Linked DNA regions of Homo sapiens: region 1 is linked to region 2. The links are contacts of gene promoters, found by promoter capture Hi-C in human tissues and cell types (Jung and others, 2019). All regions are on one chromosome and are shown on one strand. The core of a region is centred on a gene start or on the middle of the fragment in contact, and the rest is flanking DNA. Distances in the headings are between cores, read along the strand shown. Region 1 overlaps ZBTB46 (zinc finger and BTB domain containing 46). Region 2 holds the start of GMEB2 (glucocorticoid modulatory element binding protein 2).

The links. The method cuts DNA at HindIII sites, captures the fragments that hold promoters and counts their contacts. A contact is called where the count stands out against the background at its distance.
Region 1: a fragment that was not itself captured here is called in contact with the fragment with the promoter of GMEB2 in region 2 in 2 of the 25 tissues and cell types used here (dorsolateral prefrontal cortex and spleen).

The regions. Positions count from the first base shown.
Region 1 is chr20:63,780,706-63,785,977 of GRCh38, reverse strand. All of the region lies in intron 2 of ZBTB46 (zinc finger and BTB domain containing 46), which reads left to right. Among named protein-coding and RNA genes, the nearest start is that of ZBTB46-AS1, 25 kb to the left of the region's middle. RefSeq lists an enhancer at 3,579-3,638. The HindIII fragment of the contact is 3,748 bases long and covers 1,302-5,049 here.
Region 2 is chr20:63,622,825-63,628,425 of GRCh38, reverse strand. GMEB2 (glucocorticoid modulatory element binding protein 2) reads left to right here and starts at 1,325. Exons shown (of 10, transcript NM_012384.5): 1 at 1,325-1,470. It overlaps MHENCR (melanoma highly expressed competing endogenous lncRNA for miR-425 and miR-489), which reads right to left and starts at 1,191. Exons shown (of 2, transcript NR_132417.1): 1 at 1,034-1,191; 2 at 1-236. RefSeq lists silencers at 884-1,333, 1,424-1,963. The HindIII fragment of the contact is 46,766 bases long and covers 1-5,601 here.

The DNA.
Region 1 (5,272 bases), core at 1,926-4,425, 160 kb before region 2:
TAAGCCTGTGGGCTGAATGCTTTAAATGCAGTTGTCGAGCAGAAGGTGTTTTTAGAATCCAACAAGTGATTTTGGCTGTGTACTTTTGTTAGAGTCTTAAATCCCTTGGGTTTCCAAGGCAACTGTGAAACTCTTCCATTAGATTATTCCGAGTTGCTAAGATGAGGACACAAGGCTGTGAGCTGTGTGAGGATGGAGGATGGTTCTGCCCACGCTGTGGCGGCCAGTGACTCCCTGAGCTGCGTCCTCCGTCTGAGCCCTCAGGCTGGGATTTGGAAGCTTGGGGTTTGGAAGTAGATCATGATCCCATGGAGGTCAGTTTGTTTCCATTAAAGATTTATTCTATCTTAGAGAAGAGGATTTTTAATTTTCATCCCATTTATAGAAGCAAAGGCCCTTTTTTAAATTTTTTTTATTTTTGAGACAGAGCGTCACTGTCACCCAGGCTGGAGTGCGGTGGTGTGATCTCGACTCACTGCAGCCTCCGCTTCCTGGGTTCAAGTGATTCTCCTGCCTCAGCCTCCGAGTAGCTGGGATTACAGGCTCCCGTGACCACGCCCGGCTAATTTCTGTATTTTTAGTAGAGACGGGGTTTCACCATATTGGCCAGGCTTGTCTCGAACTCCTGACCTCAAGCGGTCCGCCCGCCTCAGCCTCCCAAAGTGCTGGGATTACAGGCGTGAGCCAGTGTGCCGGGCCACAAAGTCCCTTTTCCTTCTTTCTTTTTCTTTTCTTTTCTTTTTTTTTTTTTTTGAGTCTCGCTCTGTTGCCGGGCTGGAGTGCAGTGGTGCAATCTCAGCTCACCGCAACCTCCACCTCCCAGGTTCACATCATTCTCCTGCCTCAGCCTCCCGAGTAGCTGGGACTACAGGTGCCCACCACCACGCCCGGCTAATTTTTGTATTTTTAGTAGAGACGGGGTTTCACCATGTTGGCCAGGACGGTCTCGATCTCTTGACCTCGTGATCCGCCTGCCTCGGCCTCCCAAAGTGCTGGGATGACAGGCGTGAGCCACCACGCCCGGCCACAAAGTCTCTTTTCTAAGGACACATGTCAAGTGGTCACCGTGGATCATTCGACGCCGATGCCCCAACCCCTCTGTGCATCATCCCGGCCCCTGGTGACCCTGAGGCCTGTTTGCTTTTAAGAGTGATTTTCTAGGCAGGGAGGCCAAATTCATTCTAACTGAGCAGCTTCCAAGAAACAGTATCCCTTGAAATTTATTTCTGAGTTACAGCAGTTCACTTCTATGAGAGCTTGTGGGAAATAGCATTAAAATGTTCAGATTCATGTTTGCAGCTATGGGGCAGGCAGGCAGGCCCGTGCCTCCCCAGGCCCTGGCGTCTCCTTCTCATCTGCGGAGGGAGCACAGTAAGGACCTGAGAGGTGACTGGTGAGGCCTTGACAAAGTGGATGTGTAGCTACTGCATGAGAAGATGGTAAAGAAACAGCCCAGGTGCCCCAACTAAATGGCCCCACACATGCCTAAGCGGTGCTGCTACAGGAGGATCTGTGTGTTCTGTGAAGTGTGTACTTGAACCCTGGTGAGGTGGGAGCTTGACATGTTGGGATTTTTAAGCGTACATCAGAACTGCGGGAGCTCCAGATGGGGGACAATGGCCTCTCGGGTGCCTAGCACTGCCTGCAAGCCTCCTGTCTGCTCCGGGAGGGGAGTGAGGGTCCCAGCTCTCAGGGTAGGGTGGTCTTCGAGCTGCTTCTTGGACCAGGCCGGCCTGCCTCCGGCGGGTCTCAGGGTTTCTCTCCCTTGTGCTGACAGCAGCTCCTCACCGCCCCCAGAGCTCTTTGCTGGGGATAAAGCAGGAACTGGTGAGCGGAGGGGGCCGTGGCTGTGTCCCCTTCTGGTGTTCCCTCTTTCTCTCCACGAAGGTTGGGGAGGAGGACCCCCACCACGGTCTCAGCCGTCCTGATCACACGAGGGCAGGGAGTTACCTCTGAGGTTACGTCCCTGCAGGGACTCCTGTCCTGAGTGTGCGTGGCATCTCGGCCCTCCTGGTGCCCGACGGAATGTGAGGTTCCCCCACCTGGCCTCCTGAACAATGTTTCGCCTCCTGAACACCTTTCACAGCCTGTTTCAGCAGCACGGCAGATCTGATTGTTCTGTTGAAGAAAATTTCCTGCACTTGGGATGGTCTTTTTATTTTTTGGGTGGAAGGGTTTCAACCAAAAGATGACATCATGTGCTTTGGTCAGTAGTGGGGTGGGAAGGGCGTCCGGCTCCGCACCCCGATCCCACAGCTGCTCGGGAGATGCTTGGCTTGGCCTCTTTTAATCCACTCCCCTGTTCAGTCCTGTCCTGGGAAGCTTGAGAACTCAGCTGCGCCTTCTCTAGATGTTTTTGCTTTCAGGTATGAACAGAATTACCTGCAATCAGCTTTGATCACATTACAGTCTGTTGGGGAGCAGCTGGTGACGGGGACAGAGACAATAACACCCTTCACAGGAACGTGCTGTTTTTTGTTTTTGTTTTATTTTTAAAAAAATTCTGCACTCGGCACTGGACAGAGTATTTTTTGTTTTTGTTTTTGTTTTGAGACGGAGTCTCGCTCGGTCGCCAGGCTGGAGTGCAATGGCGCGATCTCGGCTCACTGCAATCTCTGCCTCTCGGGTTCAAGTGATTCTCCTGCCTCAGCCTCCCGAGTAGCTGGGACTACAGGCACGTGCCACCACGCCCAGCTGATATTTTGTATTTTTAGTAGAGACGGGGTTTTGCCATGTTGGCCAGGCTGGTCTCAATCTCTTGAACTTGTGATCCACCCACCTCAGCCTCCCAAAGTGCTGGGATTACAGGCATGAACCACCACGCCCAGCTGTGTTTTTTGTTTTTTTTAAGACAAGGTCTCACTCTCTTGCCCAGGCTGGAGTGCAGTGGTACAATCTCGGCTCACGGCAGCCTCAACCTCCTGGGCTCAGGTGATCCTCCCACCTCAGCCTCCTGAGTAGCTGGGACTATGGGCGTGCGCCACCACGCCTGGCTAATTTTTAAAAATGTTTTTTATAGAGATGTAGATCTCACTATGACGGGAGACGGGATCTCACTATGTTGCCCAGGCCAGTCTCAAACTCCTGGGCTTAGCGATCCTCCCGCCTGGGCCTCCCATGGTGCTGGGATCACAGGTGTGAGCCACTGCCTGGCCAACTGAACTTTTAACGCAGCCACTCGGCAGGGTGTCCTTGCATCTCTGGCTTTGCTCCTTGTCCTGGTGTGGGAGGGACTCACGGCCGCAGCCAGCAGCAACACTGCTCCTCACCTGTGGGTGTGGGGCGTGGGTCGTGGGGCATGGGGCGTGGCTGCAGCCTGTTCTGTGGTTGTCTGGATGTGGGCGTTTGGGTGTCAGGCTCAGGGCTGTGAGGCTCTCCTGCAGGTGTCTTTTGTGGCTTTTGTGCTTTTGGCAAGCACCTGGCTCCTGATGGCTGCTGTAATAAATGACCAGACTTATTGTCAGAGCAATGCACGTTTTGTCTCACGGTTCTCTGAAGTCTGAAGCAGCCGGCAGGGCTGCATCCCCTGGAGCTCCAGGGGAGTCCATGTGCCTCTTCTGGCTTCTGGAAGCCATAGCATCCTTGGCTCGTGGCCCGACATCATTCCTGCCCCTTCCCATCCTCGCTTCTGTCACCCTCCTGCCTCCTTCTCTGCTGACGGGGCCCTGGTGGGTCCGTTTAGGGCCCACGTGGCTCATCCAGGACTCATCGTGAGATCCTGAACCGAATCAGGTCTGCGGAGTCGTTCTGCCACAAGGTGGCAAAACCACGGCTCGGGGGTTGCAGCCTGGGCGTCTCTGCAGGAGTCATTGGCTCACCACTGGGGGTTTGCATACAGTAGCCGGGGATTTTGGTGAAAATCGCCACGCCTCTTTTCTTTTTTTTTTTTTTGAGACGGAGTCTTGCTCTTTCACCCAGGCCTGAGTGCAGTGGCGCCATCTCGGCTCACTGCAAGCTCCGCCTCCCCGGTTCATGCCATTCTCCTGCCTCAGCCTCCTGAGTAGCTGAGACTACAGGCACCCACCACCACGCCTGGCTAATTTTTTTTGTATTTTTAGTAGAGACGAGGTTTCACCGTGTTAGTCAGGATGGTCTCGATCTCCTGACCTTGTGATCTGCCCACCTCAGCCTCCTAAAGTGCTGGGATTACAGGCGTGAGCCACCGCGCCCGGCCTCTATTTTTTTTTTGACAGAGTCTCGCTCTGTTGTCCAGGCTGGAGTGCAATGGCACGATCTTGGCTCACTACAACCTCTGCCTCCTAGGTTCAAGCAATTCTCCTGCCTCAGCCTCCCGAGTACCTGGGATTACAATCACCCAGCACCACCCCTGGCTGATTTTTTGTATTTTTAGTAGAGACGGGGTTTGGCCGTGTTGGCCAGGCTGGTCTCGAACTCCTGACCTCAGGTGATCCGCCTGCCTCGGCCTCCTACAGTGCTGGCATGACAGACGTGAGACGCCACACCTGGCTTCTCTATGGTCTTTGATTTGCATTTCTTTGATGGCGGATGATGCCATTCATATATCTTTTTTGGTAAAGTGTCTGTCCAGGTCTTTTTGCCGTGTTTCGATTGGGCTGTCTACGTGGTGACCGTGAGGCTCTGGCCGAGTGAGTGTCGTGGCTCAGCTGGCGGTGATGAGCATCGGGCACCTGCTCCACATCTGGGTCTCTTCCTTGGGGAAGTGTCTGTTCAGATCTTCTGCCCATCTTTTATTACTGAGTGGTGAGAGTTCCTAGGTGTTCTCGTTCCAAGTCCTTCATCAAGTATGTGCTTTGAAAATATTTTCTCTTGGCCTTTGGCTCCTTTTTTCTTTCTTTTTTTTTTTTTTTTTTTTTTTGAGGCAGAGTCTTGCTCTGCCACCCAGGCTGGAGTGCAGTGGCACCATCTTGGCTCACTGCAAACTCTGCCTCCTGGGTTCACGCCATTCTCTTGCCTCAGCCTCCTGAATAGCTGGGATTACAGGCACCCGCCACCGCGCCCAGCTAATTTTTGTATTTTTTTTTTTTTTTTTAGTAGAGATGGGGTTTCACCATGTTGGTCAGGCTGGTCTTGAACTCCTGACCTCATGATCCACCCGCCTTGGCCTCCCAAAATGTTGGGATTACAGGCGTGAGCCACTGTGCATGGCCTCCTTTTTTCATTTAACAGTGTCTCTTCAGGAGGATCCTTTTTTTTTGAGACGGAGTATCATTCTGTCGCCCAGGCTGGAGTGCAGTGGTGCAATCTCGGCTCACTGCAAGCTCTGCCTCCTGGGTTCACACCATTCTCCTGC
Region 2 (5,601 bases), core at 76-2,575:
AGAGCCCTCCTCCTACAAGTGTGAGCACAGGGTCAGGGTTCCATCCAAGCGAGCACCTGCTTCCTATTTTCCGACTAATTTCGGTCCCCTGATACGGAATCCGGGATCCTGCAGACAGGCAGCGGGTGACAGCAAGCACAAGGGTGTTCGATGACACCTGGAGAGGTCAGGAGAGCCAGTCCTGCGGTGCAGAGGAAGAAACCCAGCACAGAGGCCAACAGAGCCAGCCCCAGCCTCTGCCAATAAAACATATAAATGAGCCCTGGGGGCTGGAGGAGGGCCACAGGATCCAAGCTGGCTGCCGGATCCGAGTGGGATCGGGGTGCCGACTGTGGGACATGGGTGGGATGGGGTGCCGGCTGCGGGACTCGGGTGGGATCGGGGTGCGGGCTATAGGACTGGGGCGGGATCGGGGTGTCATCTATGGGATCGAGGTGCTGGCTATGGGACTGGGGTGGGATCGGGGTGCTGGCTATGGGACTGGGGTGGGATCGGGGTATCAGCTATGCTATGCGATCGGGGTGAGTGCCGGCTGTGGGATCGGGGTGCCGGCTGCGGGACTGGGGTGGGATCGGGGTGCCGGCTGTGGGACAGCGGTGGGATCGGGGTGGGTGCCAGCTGTTGGGCTGGGGTGGGATCGGGGTGCCAGCTGCGGGACTGGGGTGGGATCGGGGTGCCGGCCGTGGGACAGCGGTGGGACCGGGGTGTTAGCTATGGGATTGGGGTGGGTGCCGGCTGTTGGGCAGGGGTGGGATCGGGGTGTCGGCTGTGGGACTGCGATAGGATCGGGGTGCTGGTTGTGGGACTGGGGTGACAGCTTGAGGGGTGACCGAGCCCTCCCGGCCGCTCCCGGATGCCCCTCGCCCTCCACGCTGGGAGCGCCGTGGCTGGCTGAGCCTCTGGCATGTTCCGCGTGAGTCCGCGCACCCTACAGCGTCCTCCTCCACAGCCTCGTGTTCAGGCGTCCGCCCCGCAGGGGAGTCCCCTCGCGCCCATTCACACACAGCAGCGTCCGGGCGAGGAGCGCCCGTACCTGGAGGCCTGAAGGTACCGCCCTGCCGCGCGTGGGCACTGCTCCCTGGCGCCGTCCGTCCACTGACCATCGTCCCTCGGCCCGGCCGCCCGCGCGGGGCAGGCAACGCCCGACCGGGGGCCTCGGGGACCAGGAGGAACCTGCGGCGTTAGGAGCTGACAGTGTCGGTCCGCGCACGCGCCCCGGGGCCCGTCGGGCCTTATTTCACGGCCCCGCCTTCCTCCTCCGCGAGCGCCAAATAAGTGTCCGGCCCTCCCAGCCCCGTGCGTGCGCGGCCCCGCCGCCTGCGTCACTAGGAAGCGCGCGCCCGCGCCGCCGCCGCCGCCGAATCCCCAACAAGGAGCGAAGCCCGCGGCCGCCGCCGCCGCCCGCCGCCGCCGCAGCTCCCGACGCCGCCGCCCCCGCCGGGTGCCTAAGCAGGCCCGGCGCGGCCCCAGGTAAGCGGCGCCGGCGAGCCCGCGGCCCCCCCGCGGCGAGGCCTCTCGCTCCGCTCACGCGCCGCCGTCCAGTCAGGGGTCCCTGCGGAGCGTCAGGACGTTACGGCGGGGGGAGGGGAGGGCCGGGGGAGGGGCGGCCGCGCGGGCGGCGGCGTCAGGCGCAACGGCGGCGTCAGGCGGGCGGCGCGGGCGGTGGCGGGCGCGGGCGGCGGCGCTTCCTGCCTCCATCTTGGCGCCGCGGGCGGGCGCGGGCTCGGCCTCCAGCGGCCTCCTCGGTGGACCCATCCCGGGGGGACCACGCCGCAGGGGTGCGACCCGCAGGGACCACCCCGCAGGCACCCGACCCGCAGGGACGCGACCCACAGGGACCACCCCGCAGGCACCCGACCCGCAGGGGCCACCACGCGACCCGCAGGGGCCACCCCACAGGGACGCGACCCACAGGGACCACCCCACAGGGACGCGACCCACAAGGACCACCCCGCAGGCACCCGACCCGCAGGGACGCGATCCCCAGGGGCCACCCCGCAGGCACCCGACCCGCAGGGACGCGATCCCCAGGGGCCACCCCGCAGGCACCCGACCCGCAGGGACGCGATTCCCAGGGGCCACCCCGCAGGCACCCGACCCGCAGGGACGCGACCCATAGGGACCACCCCGCAGGCACCCGACCCGCAGGGGCCACCCGGCAGGCACCCAACTCGCAGGGACGCGACCCGCAGGGATCACCCCACTGGGACCCACTCTCAGGGACCTGACCTGCAGGGACCACCCCACAGGGGCCCGCGTCACTGTAGGCTCACAGGCGGGACCTGGATCTGTGTAGACCCATGGTGGTGTGGACCCTGTTGGTCGGAGCTGATTTGTTGTGGGCCCGTCGTCAGTCATGGCATGTTATCTATTTGGTTACTGTGTAATTCATGCGTGACTGAAAAGTCGTGACTGACTTTTCTGTTGAACCAGAATTCTCTTTCTTTGCTAACACTTCAAATACAACAGTTTCAATTACATCAGTGTTGACCGTGCCGGTCAAGAATACTAGTTTAAAAATATTTTCTTGGGCCAGGTGTGATGGCTCACACCTGTAATCCCACCACTTTGGGAGCCCGACGTGGGCGGATCATGAGGTCAGGAGTTTGAGAGCAGCCTGGCTAACACGGTGAAACCCTGTCTCTACTAAAAATACAAAAGTTAGCCGGGCGTGGTGGTGTGCACTTGTAATCCCAGCTAGTTGGGAGGCTGAGGCAGGAGAATTGCTTGAACCCAGAAGGCAGAGGTTGCAGTGAGTGGAGATGGTGCCATTGCACTCCAGCCTGGGTGACGGAGCAAGATTGCGTCTCAAAAAAAAAAAAGTAAAATAAAATATTTTCTCATATCTGATTTACCTAATAATTTGGAAACTCACTTCACACTAGTGGGGAACCCAAGCCTTGGGATCAAAGCTGGGTGGGTCTTGGCTTCAACACAGAAGGGGCTGTGGAGAGGCCAGGTGTAGTGGCTCACACCTATAATCCCAGCACTATGGGAGGTCAAGGTGGGAGGATCACTGGAGGTCAGGAGTTCGAGACCAGCCTGGCCAACATGATGAAACCCCGTCTCTACCAAAAATGCAAAAATTAGCTAGGCGTGTTGGGTGCCTGTAGTCCCAGCTACTCGGGAGGCTGAGGCAGGAGAATCACTTCAACCCGGGAGGCGGAGGTTGCAGTGAGCCAAGATTTTGCCATTGCACTCCAGCCTGGGTGACAGAGCGAGACTCCATCTCAAAAAAACAAAGAAGGAGCTGTGGAGAGAGGAGGGGGTGCTCGCCCTTGGGAAGGCAATAGGGCGAGGTGCTCTATTCTATAGTGCTTCTTCTGTGTCTAAAGAGCATTGTATCAAGGACTTGCACTATTTTCTGTGAGGTAACTTTTGTGCATATTGCTTTGAACCTTTAATATAGTTGCCATTGGAGGCCAGGCTCAGTGGCTCACGCCTGTAATCCCAGCACTTTGGGAGGCAGAGGCGGGCGGATCACGAGGTCAGGAGATCGAGACTGTCCTGGCCAACATGGTGAAACCCCGTCTCTACTAAAAATACAAAAATTAGCCGGGCGTGGTGGTGGGCGCCTGTAATCCCAGCTACTCAGGAGGCTGAGGCAAGAGAATCGCTTGAACCCGGGAGGCAGAGCTTGCATTGAGCCGAGATCGGGCCACTGCAGTCCAACCTGGGCTACAGAGCGAGACTCCGTCTCAAAAAAAGAATATATGTATGTATGCAGTTGCCAATGGAGAGGCTGGAATTCAGTTTTGTGCGTGTACATTGCGTAATCCTCTGCAAAGCCCTGAAGCTGTGACGAGGACCCCTGCCTGCAGTGAGGCTGTTGCCTCTTTGCAGCTCTCTGCTTAAATGACTTTAGTTGCCCCTGCTGAGCTTACCCTTATGAAAGCAGCGTCTCCTCAGTGAGAGTTAAACCCCGAGAAGTCAGCACGGGAGATCAGTAGTATTTTAAATGAAATTTTTATTTTTTAATTTTAATTTTTTTTTTTTTGAGACAGAGTCTCGCTCTGTTGTCTAGGCTGGAGTGCAGTGGCACAATCTTGGCTCGCTGCAACCTCTGCCTCCGGAGTTCGAGAGATTCTCCTGCCTCAGCCTCCCAAGTAGGTGGGATTACAGGCACCCGCCACCATGCCCGGCCAATTTGTTTTTTTTTTTTTGTATTTTTAGTAGAGACAGGGTTTCATCATGGTGGCCAGGCTGGTCTTGAATTCCTGACCTCAGGTGATCCACCCGCCTCGGCCTTCCAAAGTGATGGGATTACAGGCGTGAGCCACCACGCCTGGCCAAATTTTTGAATTTTTTTTTTTTCTGAGACAGGGTCTTGCTCTGTCGCCCAGGCTGAAGTGTAGTGGTGCAGTCTTGGCACACTGCAGCCTCTGCCTCCCGGGTTCAAGCAGTTCTCTCACTTCAGCCTCCTGAGTAGCTGGGATTACATGGGCACACCACCACGCCCAGCTAATTTTTGTGTTTTCAGTAGAGACAAGGTTTTACCATGTTGGCCAGGCTGGTCTAACTCCTGACCTCAGGTGATCTGCTCGCCTCGGCCTCCCAAAGTGCTAGGATTATGGGCGTGAGCCACCACACCTGGCCTGAGTAAAATTTTAAAGTGGCTTTTTTTTTTTAAGAGAGAGTCTCACTCTGTCACCCAGGCTTGAGTGCAGTGGCATGATCTTGGCTCACTGCAACCTCTGCTGCCCAGGTTCAAGCGATTCTCCTGCCTCAGCCTCCCAAGTAGCTGAGATTACAGGCACCTGCCACCGCGCCCGGCTAATTTTTGTATTTTTAGTAGAGACGGGGTTTCACCGTATTGATCAGGCTGGTCTTTGAACTTCTGACCTTATGATCCACCCGCCGCGGCCTCCCAAAGTGCTGGGATTACAAGTGTGAGCCACCGCGCCCGGCCTAAAGTGGCTTTTTATTCATGTTTGTTTAAAGTTCTTTATTTTGAAGCCTAAGTCTACAACAACAAAGTTATGCTAGTGAAAACATTATATTTGAGAAATACGAAGTAATTCCGCCAGTGTAAACGAATTCATCATTGTAACTTTCCTGGCTAAAAAGCATCTGAAGACAGTCTTCAGAGACCCTGATGCCCTAATGGGAAATTGCCCACCAGCAGCTGGAGGGGTTCACCTGTGAGCCCCCTTTCCCCTTAGGCGCTCTGTCCTAGATGGCCACCATTTAAATTGAGTGACAGTAAACGGCTCATCATGTTCCAGGATGTTCTTAATTTGTAAAAATTTTTTTTCCTCATTTAAACAATACATTTTCCTTCCATCACTCATTTTCGATACCCTCCTGAAACAGGAAACGGGGAATATTTTCTTGTCCCTCGCACTTAGTCCTTAGTGCTTGTGTTTAGATGTGTTCCGTGAATACTTTGAGTAGTGTTCCTGTGGAGCCCTCACTGGTGTTCTCTGGGCTCTGGGCGCTGCCCCTTCTTACCCTAAACCTACCACAGCCCTCCCCGCCACTCACCGTCCGCCACACTCACTGCTCTCCCAGGCCAGGCTGGCGTCAGTAACGCGTGCGGGGTCTTTGCTGCGGGTGGTACCCAGCTCCCCACGGTTTCTTTTTGCTTCCTTTTCTTTGAGA